Regions from separate parts of the Homo sapiens genome. Here region 1 is linked to region 2. The links are contacts of gene promoters, found by promoter capture Hi-C in blood cells and fetal thymus (Javierre and others, 2016). All regions are on one chromosome and are shown on one strand. The core of a region is centred on a gene start or on the middle of the fragment in contact, and the rest is flanking DNA. Distances in the headings are between cores, read along the strand shown.

What was found. Contacts are between HindIII fragments. The CHiCAGO score rates a contact against its expected background, and 5 or more counts as called.
Region 1: a contact is called between a fragment that was not itself captured here and the fragment with the promoter of JPT2 in region 2, in 1 of 17 cell types (endothelial precursors). The highest score is 5.3, in endothelial precursors.

The regions. Positions count from the first base shown.
Region 1 is chr16:1,510,240-1,517,237 of GRCh38, forward strand. It overlaps TELO2 (telomere maintenance 2), which reads left to right. Exons shown (of 21, transcript NM_016111.4): 21 at 1-215. It overlaps IFT140 (intraflagellar transport 140), which reads right to left. Exons shown (of 31, transcript NM_014714.4): 31 at 188-911. The coding sequence ends at 705. Among named protein-coding and RNA genes, the nearest start is that of TMEM204, 20 kb to the right of the region's middle. The HindIII fragment of the contact is 251 bases long and covers 1,137-1,387 here.
Region 2 is chr16:1,676,805-1,683,970 of GRCh38, forward strand. JPT2 (Jupiter microtubule associated homolog 2) reads left to right here and starts at 1,475. Exons shown (of 5, transcript NM_144570.3): 1 at 1,475-1,552. The coding sequence starts at 1,509. It overlaps CRAMP1 (cramped chromatin regulator 1), which reads left to right. Exons shown (of 21, transcript NM_020825.4): 21 at 1-1,104. RefSeq lists silencers at 1,102-1,501, 1,532-1,891 and an enhancer at 1,332-1,967. The HindIII fragment of the contact is 3,871 bases long and covers 1-3,705 here.

The sequences.
Region 1 (6,998 bases), core at 12-2,511, 170 kb before region 2:
GGACGGTGTACCTGCTGCTCAGAGCCCCCAAGGCTCTCCTCTGAGAGCCACCAAGCAGGACAGAGCAGCTCTTGTCCCAGGTCCCTCGGGCTGAGCGCCGTGTCACCAGGAGAATAGTGCTCACAGCCCAGGCAGGGTGTGTGGCTCCTGGATGGGCTCGTGGGGCGGGATGGGACAGGGCACGGGCTCTCAGAAAATAAACTGCTTTATTGGAATTACAGGAGTGTTGGTGGCCGGTGGGCAGAGCCTAGCAGGGGGTGCAGCCGCCAAGGCCCGGGTGTCCCAGCTGTTGCTCAGGAGCCGTGGGCCCTGCAGGAGTATGGGGAGGATATGATGTGTGGGGAGCAGGGGGGCAGGTGCCCCAGCCCTCCAGCTGCAGCTTCCTGAGGTTCTAGAAGTTTCTCAGGCTTTACAATGTGTAGTTGGGAGAATACGATGGAAGGGTGAACCCGACTCCCTTCAAAGGAATGAATCCAAAAATCTAGTGGAGCTGCCGGGCACCCAGAGGCAGGTGGGACAGAGCAAGGTGCAGACGGGTCACACCCTCCGCCGGCCCGGGCCGCTGCGTTCTCGCCCAGCTCTGTCGCGTATTCCAACACAGACATGTTTTTTCCCAGCAAAAATGCTGGCTTTGCCACAGCTGACAAAAAAATTCCAGAAGATGCCTTTCTGCAGCAGCACGCTGGTCCTGGGGCCCAGGCCCCTCAGGGGTCGTCATCTGCCTCTTCCACCACCTCCTCGTCCAGCTCCCTGGCGTCCTCCATGCTGTTGTGGCGGACCTGCTCGGGGACGGTGCGTGGCAGTGGGAGACCCAGCCCCCGGTGCACGGCGTCCACGGCCTGCGGGCTCACGTAGTAGGACATGTTGGCCAAGGGAAGCCGCCGCCGCATCTCCTCCAGGAATCTGTAGGCCTGGGGCAGAGGAGCAGACATTACTCAGCTTTCCTGAACAACCAGGCACGACCCTCTGCCTGCAGGCCAGGCACGTGCTGCTGCCCCTGGAGGCGGGTGGGGGTGCCTCCGCGCTGGAGGACACGGGGTGCACTGAGGCTTCCCATTGGTGATGGGGGAATGTGGTGATGAGGGGATGCGGTGCCCGCGGACCGCACACATGCCATGTGTGGACACTCAACAGGAAGCTTCGGTCAGCATTTCAGCTGGAAATGCAGAGCCAGGGCCCTGGAAAGTCCCTCAGCAGCTGTGCACAGGCCTGCTCACCGTGCGTGTGCGGGCAGAGCCTCCTGGGGAGGCAGAGGCCCCGCGTTCTGCACTCGAGTCTTGCGGGTGGACATGCATATGTCAGAGTGGAGGGCAGGCAGCGATATCTACTGGTTTGGCTTGGGTATTTTTTTTTTTTGAGATGGAGTCTCAGCTATGAAGATATAATAAGCTTGTTGGATGGCCCCTCCCATCACCTGGCAGTGGACCTGCGTTTAAGGAAGGCCTCAGCTGGGGTGGGCGCTGGTGGAGTGCAAGCCTTCCACACAGTCTCAAACGAGAGGCTGAGGGCAAACATCCACACCTGAAAAGATGCTGCCTTACATGCTGACAAACCACCTGCCATGTGCCAGGCGCTGTGCTGGGGACACAGGGGACACAGGACGTAAGGGCACAGAACAAGCTTGGGTAATGCTGTAGTGGGGAGCCAGGTCAGGCCGAGGTCCTGCAGTGGCAGAATTCAGAGAAGGGCTGGCACAGGGAGGGAGAGAGAGGAAGGAGCTGACCAGGGTCGAAGAGGGACCCTGTGGTCAGAAAGGGCCGGCGTCCTGATGCAACCAGGGCCTGGTGCGTGTGACTGCTCTGTGTGCAGAGCTAGCTTCGGAGAGGGCAATCAAGTGGTTTCCAGAAGGCAGGCAGAAGGTGCGGAGGGCGGGTGAGGGGTGGTGGGGGGCAGGACAGGCGGCATAGGTGGGTGAGGGGTGGTGGGGGGCAGGATGGGGGGCAGGACAGGCGGCATAGGTGGGTGGGGGGCAGGATGGGGGGCAGGACAGGCGGCGTAGGTGGGTGAGGGGCGGTGGAGGGCAGGACGTGGGGACAGAAATGTTGCCGGTCTCCAGCATCAGGAGGGTGTGTGCGGGCTGTGCTCAGATGATGGATGATGGCGGGAAAGCTGAGCGGATATAGGAGCTGTGGCCTGGGTGAGGTGGTGCACGTGACCCCGGGTGGCGCTACAGCAGCAGCCAGGGAGCGTGTGCCTGGGCATTCTCAGTTTAGCTGCGCTTCCCAGTTTCTTTTTTCTTTTGTATCTCGAGTTACTAAATTCCACAGGCTTCAAGCAACCATAGAGAGAATAAAGAAGTTGGCGAAATATTTAAAATGTGGATTTCCTGTTAATTTTGAGGATATAGCAGTCTGGGCATCTCTCTACTCCAATTTTGCTTTTATACGGAAAACTATAGTTCTCCTAGAAATAGAAACCCCGTTGGAGCAGGGCGCGGTGCTGCACACCAGCCACTCACGAGGATCCCTTGAACCCGGGAGGCTGAGGCTGCAGGGAGCTGTGATTGTGCCACCGCACTCCAGCCTGGGCGACAGAGCAAGACCTCGTCTCAAAACCAAACCAAGCAACAACAAAAAAGAAACCTTGTTAGGATTAGACTTGAGTTGTTTTTTCCAGCAGCAAAAGGGGTCAGTGAATGGAAGTGGAACGGCGCAGAGGGGAGTGAGCAACCGGGCCAGGAAGTCTGTGTCTCACGGAGCTGACCTTTCAGCCCTGAGGGAGAGCCACTGCCAAGGAGCTTTCCTGTGAATTCTGGAGGCTGCAGCCCAGCGAGCCCGACACGGTCGCCAGCATGTTTCCCAAGCTCATTTCTCGATACTCAGTTTGTGAGTCCCGGGAACTATCTAATAGGGCAACACAACTGGTGGGTGCAGAGGCCCTGCAGGCATCGGCATAGCTGCAGGGTCTGACGGATGCAGGCGCGTGCAATTCTCTATGTTGGCTACAACAGAATTATGGTTGAAAAAGAGGCCGGGCGCGGTGGCTCACGCCTGTAATCCCAGCACTTTGGGAGGCCGAGGTGGGCGGATCACGAGGTCAGGAGATCAAGACCATCCTGGCTAACACGGTGAAACCCCGTCTCTACTAAAAAATAAATAAATAAATACAAAAATTAGCTGGGCGTGGTGGCGGGAACCTGTAGTCCCAGCTACTTGGGAGGCTGAGGCAGGACAATTGCTTGAGCCCAGGAGGCGGAGGTTGCAGTGAGCCACGATCATGCCACTGCACTCCAGCTGGGCAACAGAGCAAGACTGTCTCAGAAAAGAAAAAAGAATGAGAAGAGAGGCTTCTGACAACAGCAGCACGACTCCTGTGAGAGCAGCCCTCCCCCTAATGACGACGGACACATGGAAAGGCACTGGGGGCAGCCGTGAGCAGGCTGATGCTGGGAGTGGGTGGCACTGGGCAGGCTTCCTGCTTCTCACAACTTTCTTTTTTTTTTTTTCTTTTTTGAGACGGAGTCTTGCTGTGTCGCCCAGGCTGGAGTGCAGTGGTGCGATCTCTGCTCACTGCAAGCTCCGCCTCCCGGGTTCACACCATTCTCCTGCCTCAGCCTCCCAAGTAGCTGGGACTACAGGCGCCCACCACCACACCCGGCTAATTTTTTGTATTTTTAGTAGAGACGGGGTTTCACCGTGTTAGCCAAGATGGTCTCCATCTCCTGACCTCATGATCTGCCCGCCTTGGCCTCCCAAAGTGCTGGGATTACAGGCGTGAGCCACTGCACCCGGCTGCTTCTCACAACTTTCTGCCTCAGGGTAGGCCCAAGTCAGGGCCAGTGTGGGCATCAGCCACCTCGAAGCCTGCCCTCTTCCAGGCTTAAAGAATCAGAATCAAGATTTTTGTTGGCCAGGTGCGGTACCTCACGCCTGTAATCCCAGCACTTTGGGAGGCCAAGGTGGGTGGATCACGAGGTCAGGAGATCGAGACCATCCTGGCTAACACGGTGAAACCCCGTCTCTACTAAAAATGCAAAAAAAATTAACTGGGCGTGGTGGCGGGCGCCTGTAGTCCCAGCTACTCGGGAGGCTGCAGCAGGAGAATGGCATGAACCAGGGAGGCGGAGCTTGCAGTGAGCCGAGATCACGCCACTGCACTCCAGCCTGGGCGATAGAGCGACACTCCATCTCAAATAAATAAATAAATAAATAAATAAAAGATTTTTGTTGACCACAGCAGCTGGAATGTGAAGGTGGAAACGTTGGGATGCAGCAGGCATAGAGGGGATCCCAAATCCTGAGCATATGCTGCCCTCGTCACTAGTTGCTCCCACACTACACATGAGGCAGGGGAGGTGCAGACTTTAAGCCAACTCACGCTACAAGCAGGGATTTCAGCTGCTATCCACCACAGGGGAAAGAGTTTCGGCTCTGAGCTGAGCAAAGGTGATTGCCTAATAAAATGAACCAAAAAAAAGCAATACTCTTTGGAGGAATGTAACAGAATCCAGAGTCTCTACAATGGATTATCCACAATGTCCATGATACAAAAAAATGACTAGACATAAGAAACAGGAAAATTTGACCCATACTCAAAAGGCAAGTAATGGAGATCAATCCTACATGACCCAGATATTGGAACCGGTAGCTAAGATTTTACAGCAGCAGTTACAACTCTGCTTTAGGATATAAATATAAAATATATTTTAAACAAATTAACAAATAGGGAATTTTAGCCAATAAATAATAAAAAGAACTAAGTGTAAATTCTAGGGCTGCAAAATACAAGCTCTAAAAAGATTGCTGGAGAGGTTAACAGCAGATTGAAGATAGCTAAAGAAAGTCTAGATAAATACAAATTAATCCAAAGGACAGAAAAAAAGAAAATAATGAGCAGTAATCACAAATGTGTGTCTACTAGATATGGAAGACCTAACATTTAATTGGAGTCCCAGAAGGAGAAAAAGAGCAAATTTCCCAAATTTGGCAAAACACAAATATAGATCCCAAAAGCCCAGGATAAATACAATGAAAACACCTAGGAACATCATTATCGCACTGCTGAAACACAAATTCAAGAAGAAAGTCATGACAGCAGCCAGTGCAGTGGGAGATGGAGAGACACATGACATGTAAGGGCCCCACAGACAGCCCATAGCTGACTCTTCCAGAAACAATGGAGGCCCAGACAGGGAAAACATTCAAGTGCTGAAAGGAAAAAAATCTGTCAAATCAGGATTTTTTTTGAATCAGGATCTTGCTTTGTCACCCAGGCTGGAGTGCAGTGGTGCTATCACAGCTCACTGCAGACTCAACCTCCTGGGCTCAAGCAGTCCTCCCACCTCAGCCTCCCAAGCAGCCAAGACTGCAGGTGCATGCCACCATGCCTTGCTATTTTTTTCAGAGATGGGGTCTCACTTGTTACCCAGGCTGGACTTGAACTCCTGGCCTCAAGAAATCCTCCCACCTTGGCCTCCCAAAGTGCTGAGATTACAGGCATGAGCCACTGTGCCTGGCCTCAGAATTCTCTATCTGATGAGAACAACCTTGAAGAATACAGGCAAAATAAATACATTTCAGATTAACGAAAAGTAAGAAAATTCATCATCAGGAGATCTGAACTAGAAGAAATGTTAAAGGGAGCTCAGGCTGAAGAGGAGTGATACCACATGCAAATCGGAATCATAGGGAAGAAGTAAGAACACCAGAAATGACGCTTTGGGAGGCCGAGGCAGGCAGATCACCTGAGGTTGGGAGTTTGAGACCAGCCTGACCAACATGGAGAAACCCCATCTCCCCTAAAAATACAAAATTAGCCAGGCGTGGTGGCGCATGCCTGTAATCCCAGCTACTCCGGAGGCTGAGGCAGGAGAATCACTTGAACCTGGAGGGTAGAGGTTGTGGTGAGCTGAGGTTTGTTGCCCACTCCAGCCTGGGCTACAAAGAGCAAAACTCTGTCTCAAAAAAAAAAAAAAAAAAAAAAAAAAAAAAAAAAAAAAACACCAGAAATGGATGGTAAATATGTAGGTAAATGTAAAAGACTATTTCTTTCCTTTTAATTTCTTCAAAATACATATGACTGTTGAAAGCAACAATTATAACACTATACTGTGTTTATAATACATGTACATGTTACACATACGACAAATACAGGTGGGGACACGGGTGGGAAATGGACCTACCTGCTAACTCTAGTGTGGTAAGTATGTTTATGGTAATCTCCAGGGCAAACACTAGAAATACAATGCAAAGAGGAGTAGAGATAAAAAGCTGATAGCTAAAATGAAATTATAAAAAATAGTCCACTAAGGCCAGGTGCGGTGGCTCACGCCTGTAATCCCAGCACTTTGGGAGGCCGAGGCGGGCGGATCATGAGGTCAGGAGATCGAGACCATCCTGGCTAACACGGTGAAACCCTGTCTCTACTAAAAATACAAAAAAATTATCTGGGCGTGGTGGCGGGCGCCTGTAGTCCCAGCTACTCGGGAGGCTGAGGTAGGAGAATGGCGTGAACCCGGGAGGCAGAGCTTGCAGTGAGCCGAGATTGCACCACCGCACTCCAGCCTGGGCGACAGAGCGACACTCTGTCTCAAAAAAAAAAAAAAAAAAAAATCAACTAAAAAGAAGGCAGGAAAAAAGGTTTAAAGTAACAATAATAAAAACTGGTAGAAAAAGTTGACTGGTAGAAAACTGACATGAAAAAGATGGATGGGATTACCATCAGAGTGAGACACTGCAGAAGGAAAGCTGGTAAACTTGAAGCAACAGAAATGGCAAATCCCTAAAATGAAAAACAGAAAAAGTCCTTGGGGGAGAAAAGAAGAGCATCAGTTGAGCTAGGGGATGGTACTGTATATACAAGTCATTGGAATTTCAGAAGCAGAGGAAAAAAGGAATAGAAGGGAACTTCGGCCAGGCGCGGTGGCTCACGCCTGTAATCCCAGCACTTTGGGAGGTGGAGGCGGGTGGATCACTTGAGGTCACGAGTTCAAGACCAGCCTGGCCAAATGGTGAAACCCCATCTCTACAGGCATGCTGATGCACACCTGTAGTCCCAGC
Region 2 (7,166 bases), core at 225-2,724:
TTCGTGGCTTCCTGGCTGTTTTGTCCTTCTGTGTCTTGTAGCTGTAGGGTGCCAGCTCAGGGAGTGGGGTGTTGGCGGCGTTTCCGCGGTTGGCCTCCTTGCTTTGCCGCACCTCCAGGTTCTGGGCATGAGAGGCCGTGGCCTCATTTCTGGTGGATAACCTTTTTAGTTTAATAGCATCTTTAATTAGATCACAGCATTGAATTCAAAATTTCTTCTGCAAAGAAAGTTGTGGGGCATAAGACACCGGGAATGAGGGAGGAGGAAGACAGTTGTGTTTTCTCTTTAAACCTTGAGCTCTAGCCGATGCATTTGTCAGGAAATACAGCACTTTGTCTTAAGAAAACAAGGAAGGAGGCCGGGCGCAGTGGCTCACGCCTGTAATCCCAGCACTTTGGGAGGCCGAGGCGGGCGGATCACCTGAGGTGGGGAGTATGAGACCACCCTGACTAACATGGAGAGACCCTGTCTCTACTAAAAGTACAGAATTAGCCGGGCGTGGTGGCGCATGCCCATAATCCCAGCTACTGAGGAGACTTGAGGTAGGAGAATCACTTGAACCTCAGCGGCGGAGGTTGCAGTGAGTCGAGATCGCGCCAGTGCACTCCAGCCTGGGCAAGAAGAGCGAAACTGGGTCTCAAGTTAAAAAAAGAAAGCAAGGAAAGAGTAATTTACAACGAAGGAAAAAAACCCACAGCACACCCTTCGCGGCTGTCAGCGCTCTCCTGATGTCACAGTGGCTGCGTGTCCTTGGGGTGGGTGAGGTGTGGGGAGCCCAGCCCCTGGCCCTGCCTCCCGCGCCCCGCTCCCCTTCTCTCTCTTACTCGGTTAAGCCATAGCGAGGCCTCCGCTCGTTTCAGATATGAATTTGTTTTATAGATTATAAATATGCATATACAGTGTATGTATAAAGCAGAATGCCTGCCTTTCCTGGTTATTTTTTGTACCATATTGTAAATTATATTATTTATTCTTTACCAATTTTGGGAATAAAAGGTGTTTTGGTTATTTAATATAATAAGAGCTGTTAAACTTCTGTTTAAATTTCCAGTTCAACTTGTAAATGTTTTTATTGTGCATAAATACATACTAATGTTGATCTAAGGACTGTCGTTTGTGCCTGTTCTTCAGGGCCGCGCGCCCATGCCCGCAGTCCCTGGTCGGGCAGGTGCGGCCCAGGTGCGGCCCCGCGGTCGGCTCGCGGGCTCCCGCAGACCGGGCTTCCTCCCGAGGGCGCGGCCGTCCCAGGGCCCGCCCGGCCCGCCGCCCAATGCGAGCTCCCACCTCCGCGAGCGGCGTCGCCTTCCCCAATCGGCTGCGGGCGCGGCGCCGACCGTTCAAAGCCTAAGTCGTCGGGGGTGGGCGTGAGGGGCGGTGGCCGCGCTGAGATAGGCTGCGGAGGGATGATTGGCGTCTTGGCGCCCAATGGGCGCTGGCGGGCGGCCTTGAGTACCTGCGCTGGGCGGGCGGGAACGGCGCGCGGCGAGCTGAGGGTGGCGGCGGTCGACATGTTCCAGGTCCCGGATAGCGAGGGCGGCCGCGCCGGCTCCAGGTGCGGCGCGGGGCACACGGGAGGCGGGCGGATAGCGCGACCACGTGGCGGGAGCGGGCCAGCCCAGGGCGTCCACCAGCCGTGTGGGGTTGGGGTGGGGTTGGGGGGCAGGGCGACCTCACAGAGGCCCTCGGGGCCGCCGCCCGCCTTTCTGCGCCGCCGCCAGACCGAGGCCCGAAGCCCGAGGGGCCGCTCGCTGAGGCCCGGGCTGTGGAGAGCTGCCCGCGACCGAGGCCGAGGGCGGGGAGGGGCGCCCGGGCTCTGGGAACAAAGCTGTGTGGAGGGCGGGCTGCGCTCCCTCGCGCCTGGGCGCCCGCGTTCCGTGTGGTGCGTTCCGTGGGGGGTTTCCTGGGGGCGGGGTGTGCCCGTGGGTGCGGCCCATTTTGTCTGTGGGATGCGTGTCCATGTTCCCGGGGGGGTGTCCCTAAGGGGTGTGCGGCGATGTGTTCGTGGGGGGTGTCTGGCCATGCCCCCGCTCCTGTGCGTGTGGCCGTGTGCCCGTGTCCCTGGTGTGTGTGTGGCCTGTGCCCTGCCCATGGCCGCGCTTCCACTAGTTCATGTGAGTCCACTTCCTTTGGAAAGTGCCAGGGCGTCTGGGGAAGAGTCAGTTCTATCTCCTGGGAAGGTGGATGGCGCTCCTGGGCTTCGCTGTAGGAAGAAGTGGATTGGGACGAAGATATCCTGACTCAGCTTTAATAGCCAGGAACACTGAGCACACTTTTCTTATGTTTTTGAACTTTTAAAGCACTCTTTGGGTATTGGGACTCGCATGAATTAGAGGGACAGAGCTTACAAGGTCTTTCGTGCCACTTGAGCAGTAAACTTGCATTGTGAAGTTTGGGTCTTCAGATGCCTGAGGTTTTCTGTATGATGAGCCCCTCTGTGGCACAGCCTCGCCAGAGAAGTAGAAGAGAATATGTGTGCCATGACTGTTAAGACCAATACTATATTGCTTCTCAGCCTTTTGGCTATGATCAAGTGAAGACAAATACTATATTGAATAAATACTAAGTAAAAGAATTGCTCCAACTTGCTAAAAATAAAAACCCTTTAGATTGGCCGGGCGTGGTGGCTCACACCTGTAATCACGGCACTTTGGGAGGCTGAGGTGGGCGAGTCACGTGAGGTCAAGAGTTCGAGACCAGCCTGGCCAACATGGTGAAACCCCCGTCTCTACTAAAAATGCAAAAATTAGCCAGGCGTGGTGGTGTGTGCCTGTAGTCCCAGCTACTTGGAGAGGCTGAGACAGGAGAATCACTTGAACCCAGAGGCAGAGGTGGCAGCGAGCCAAGATAATGCCACTGCACTCCAGCCTGTACGACAGAGCAAGACTCCGTCTCAAAAAAAAAAAAAACCCTTTAGATTTGAGGGAGTTAGGTCAGTATTCAGTAATACTTGTAACCAAATAATTACCCGTGGCAGGGTGCAGTGACTCAACGGCTGTAATCCCGGCACTTGGGGAGGCCGAGGCAGGTGGACCACGAGATCAGGAGATCGAGACCATCCTGGCCAACACGGTGAAACCCCGTCTCTACTAAAAATACGAAAAAATTAGCCGGGTGTGGGGTGGCGGGTGCCTGTAGTCCCAGTTCCTTGAGAGGCTGAGGCAGGAGAATGGTGTGAACCCGGGAGGCGGAGCTTGCAGTGAGCCGAGATCACACCACTGCACTCCAGCCTGGATGACAGAGCAAGACTCCGTCTCAAAGAAACAGCCCTTCATCCATGGAACAGTGATTATTATGCCTAGGTCTGCACCGATGTGGGACCAGGAGTTTAAACTAGTGCTCAGAGCGAATCCGGTTTCTGGTTCCTGGTGGCCAGAGTTTTGCACCACCCACATCAGTGGGGGGAGGGACTGCATCCCCAGCCCTGTCCCAGTTGTGTGCATTTAGTACGTTTCCTTTTTGTTTGTGCTGCCTGGCACTGGCTGCCCGGTAAATGATGGTGTTTATTATCACCCTGAGCGACGCCGATGTTTTTATATTGACTTTCACGCTCCAGAAGTTAGCTGCACAGGGCCGCACTAAAGTCATACTCACACTACCCTGGGGGACTGGTTTCTGGACAAGGTGTTGAGAAAGGGAGAAAACTCTTCCTTTTAGGATGGTGAGGAAGGAAAGCCGGTCTGAACTGGATGATGAGGTATCACTGGAAGCTTCTGCTTGGGGTCCACCAGACGCTGCACATTTGCCACTCATCTGAACGGGGTCGAGTCGCAGGGCGGGCGCCTTGTAAGCGTCACATTTAGTTTTGCTGTGAAGCGAGTCAGGTGGTGGCTGTAAGATTACCTAGCCAGGTTTTCCTCTCCTGAGACCTCACATCTCTCCTTTCCTTGCTGAGGGATTGTCTTGTGTTAAAGGGGTTTCGTAAAAGCGTTATGCTTTAGCCGCGATTAACCTGAGGTCTTCCTTCAAGCTGGAACATTTCTATTTGTAAGGAATTTAATCCAAGTTTATTTCTCACTGCTTCTCTCTAAGCCTGACCAGTCCCCTCATCCTTTCTGAAACTCGGGGACAAACTATTAGAGAGGGTCAGGAGCATGGAGACCCCCGAGGAGGGTCACACAGCTTTTCCCTACCTCTCCAGTGCTGCAGTCCACTCCAGCTGTGTGAGGTTTTTCTTCTCCTGTGCGCTTGAGTTTCTCTTGTGTGTTTTGAATATCTTCACTGAAATATATGGAAGGGGTACCACAAAAGGCAAAAAATAATTGGGAAGCACCCCCCACTCACATTGTGAATTTGTCCCCAAATGTGTGAGCTCTAGCGTTCCCCCTCCCCCTATTAGTGTCATAGTGGTAAGTGCCTGTAGCCTAGAGAAAGCCACACTGCGCCATTGTTGTCGGGCTGTTTTTGTTGAAAGGTCTATTGAACGCTCAGTTCCATTCATCCGAGACCCCTTTGAGGCAGCCCAGCCCTGCGGTCTGTGTGAAACCTGCAGTGGGACCTGTTGCCTTTGTGACCGAGATAGCCGCTGCCCCTTGCCTGGGGCTGGGCCTGTGTGCGCCATAATTTCTGCTAAAACCGTCTTTGGTACCACTTTTTTTTCTTTGCTTGTTTTCAAATAAAATTCAGAAAAGCACATAGAACAATATTAAATATTGTGTTTCCATCACCCCAAAGTAACACTGGTCATTGCAAGTAACTACCACTCACCTCCTGCGCCCATTGGTCCCCATTCCACATGGAGGCCACAGACTCAATTTGGGTTTCACCTCTTCCAAATTTTGGAGTCCCGATGGCACTAGGCGTCTGTCACGTCACTCACACAGACACTGAAACCACCTGTGCAGAGCTCTAGCTTTCCTGTTTAAACTTGAAGCTCCTCCGGGGTAAGGACTTGCTTTCCTCTATCTACGGCGTCTGGGGAAGGATTGCCAATGATAGGTGCTCGAGAGATGTGCAAGTTGAACTGAAGCAAGGGTGAAAGGCAGAGGAGACAGGAGACTGTGAATGTAGGGAATGTGGGGTCGGGAAAGAGTCCTACAGAGCTTGCAGTCAAGGCGAGTCTACCTGGAATCAGATCTGACAGTTTGTAGCACCTTGAGGGCTTGAGAGAAAAGCCATATTTGAAATAAGTCAGTAAAAGGAATTATAGCTCATGCTCAGCTCACATAAGACTTGATAAATTCAGTTCAGTTCGAAAGATTGCAGGCCTTCATCCCTTATTTCCAAAGAGAGAACTGTAGAGACCCGTGCATGTTTAGACCTGCTACACTATCCAAGAAAAATCGCAGAATTGGCTGGGCACAGTGGCTCACGCCTGTAATCCCAGCACTTTGGGAGGCCGAGGCGGGCGGATCACTTGAGGTCAGGAGTTTGAGACCAGCCTGGCCGACGTGGTGAAACCCCGTCTGTACTAAAAATACAAAAAAATAGCCAAGCACGGTGACGCACACCTGTAATCCCAGCTACTCGGAAGGCTGAGGCGGGAGAATTGCTTGAACCTGGGAGGTGGAGGTTGCGGTGAGCTGAGATCGCGTCACTGTATTCCAGCCTGGTAACAGAGTGAGACTCCATCTCAAAAAAATAAAATAGGCCGGACACAGTGGCTCATGCCTGTAATCCCAGCACTTTGGGAGGCTGAGGTGGGCGGATCACCTGAGGTCAGAAGTTCAAGACCAGCCTGGCCAACATGGTGAAACCCCGTCTCTACTAAAAATAGAAAAATTAGCTGGGCATGGTGGCGGGCATCTGTAATCCCAGCTACTCAGGAGCCTGAGGCAGGAGAATCGCCTGAACCCAGGAGGTGGAGATTGCAGTGAGCCGAGATTGTGCCATTGCACTCTGGCCTGGGCAACAAGAGCGAGATTTCGTCTCAAAAAAAAAAAAAAATGTAGAATTAGGAGGGCTGCGTGATTCAAAAATGGATATGGAAGTCAGATGGCCTTATGGCCACTCTAAGAGCACCTCACCTAAAATCTTGTTAAGCCACGCCCTCCCACCCACCACCCTTTATTTTTTTTCCTTTTGGTGAAACAAGTCCTCACTCTTTCGTCCAGGCTGGTGTACAGTGATGCAATCATGGTTCACTGCAGCTTTGACCTCCTGGGCTCAAGCCAGCCTTAGCCTCCCGAATAACTGGGACAACAGGCGCATACCACCACACCCAGCTAATTTTTTGTTTGTTTGTTTGTTTTTTTGAGACGGAATCTCGCTCTGTCACCCAGGCTGGAATGCAGTGGCGCATCTTGGTTCACTGCAAGCTCCGCCTCCCGGGTTCACGCCATTCTCCTGCCCCAGCCTCCTGAGTAGCTGGGACTACAGGCGTCCGCCACCACGCCCGGCTAATTTTTTGTATTTTTAGTAGAGACGGGATTTCACCGTGTTAGCCAGGATGGTCTCGATCTCCTGACCTCGTGATCCGCCCACCTCGGCCTCCCAAGGTGCTGGGATTACAGGCGTGAGCCACCACGCCTGGCCTTATTTTTGTATTTTTTGTAGAGACAGGGTCTCCCCATATGCCCAGGCGTGTCTCGAACTCCTGGGCTCAAACAGTCCTCCCACCTCGGCCTCCCAAGGTGCTGGGATTACAGGTGCCAGGTACTGCTCCCGGACAGCCCTTTCTCATTTAAGCTTGGTTATTGGTTATTTTTAAAAAATAATTTTTCTTAAGTGCACCTGTCTTTTTTTTTCTCCCTCCTCAAATCCTCCAGGAAATGGCAACTGCTGACAGGAAGTTTGGCATCCACCTCCCCCAGCCTCCTGAGTGGACAGGGGCCCTGGGCACCACTTCAGAGGTCGGCCAGCACACGCTTGGTTTCTGGGGTACAGTAGCCAGCCCGTGGGTCTCTGCAGGCGGAGACTGAAGCACTCTCTGCCTTCCTGCTTTATAGCAGGAGATCTGAGAACTCCATTCACATCCAGTCACAAGGAGCCCTCAGCGCTCTTTCTAGATCTTTTGAGGAGAAACTGTTATTTTTGTTAACCAAACCTTGAGTGGTCAGTGTTTGCAAAGCTTTCCAGTGAGATCTAACCTCATATCATAGTTTTTGTGTGATGTTGAGCCCTGTAATTTCAAGTATGGTCATCCTTGGTATCCTGCGGGAGTTGGTTCCAGGACCCCCAGGATGCCAAAATCCAAGGATGTGTAAGTCCTTGATATAAAGTGGTGTAAT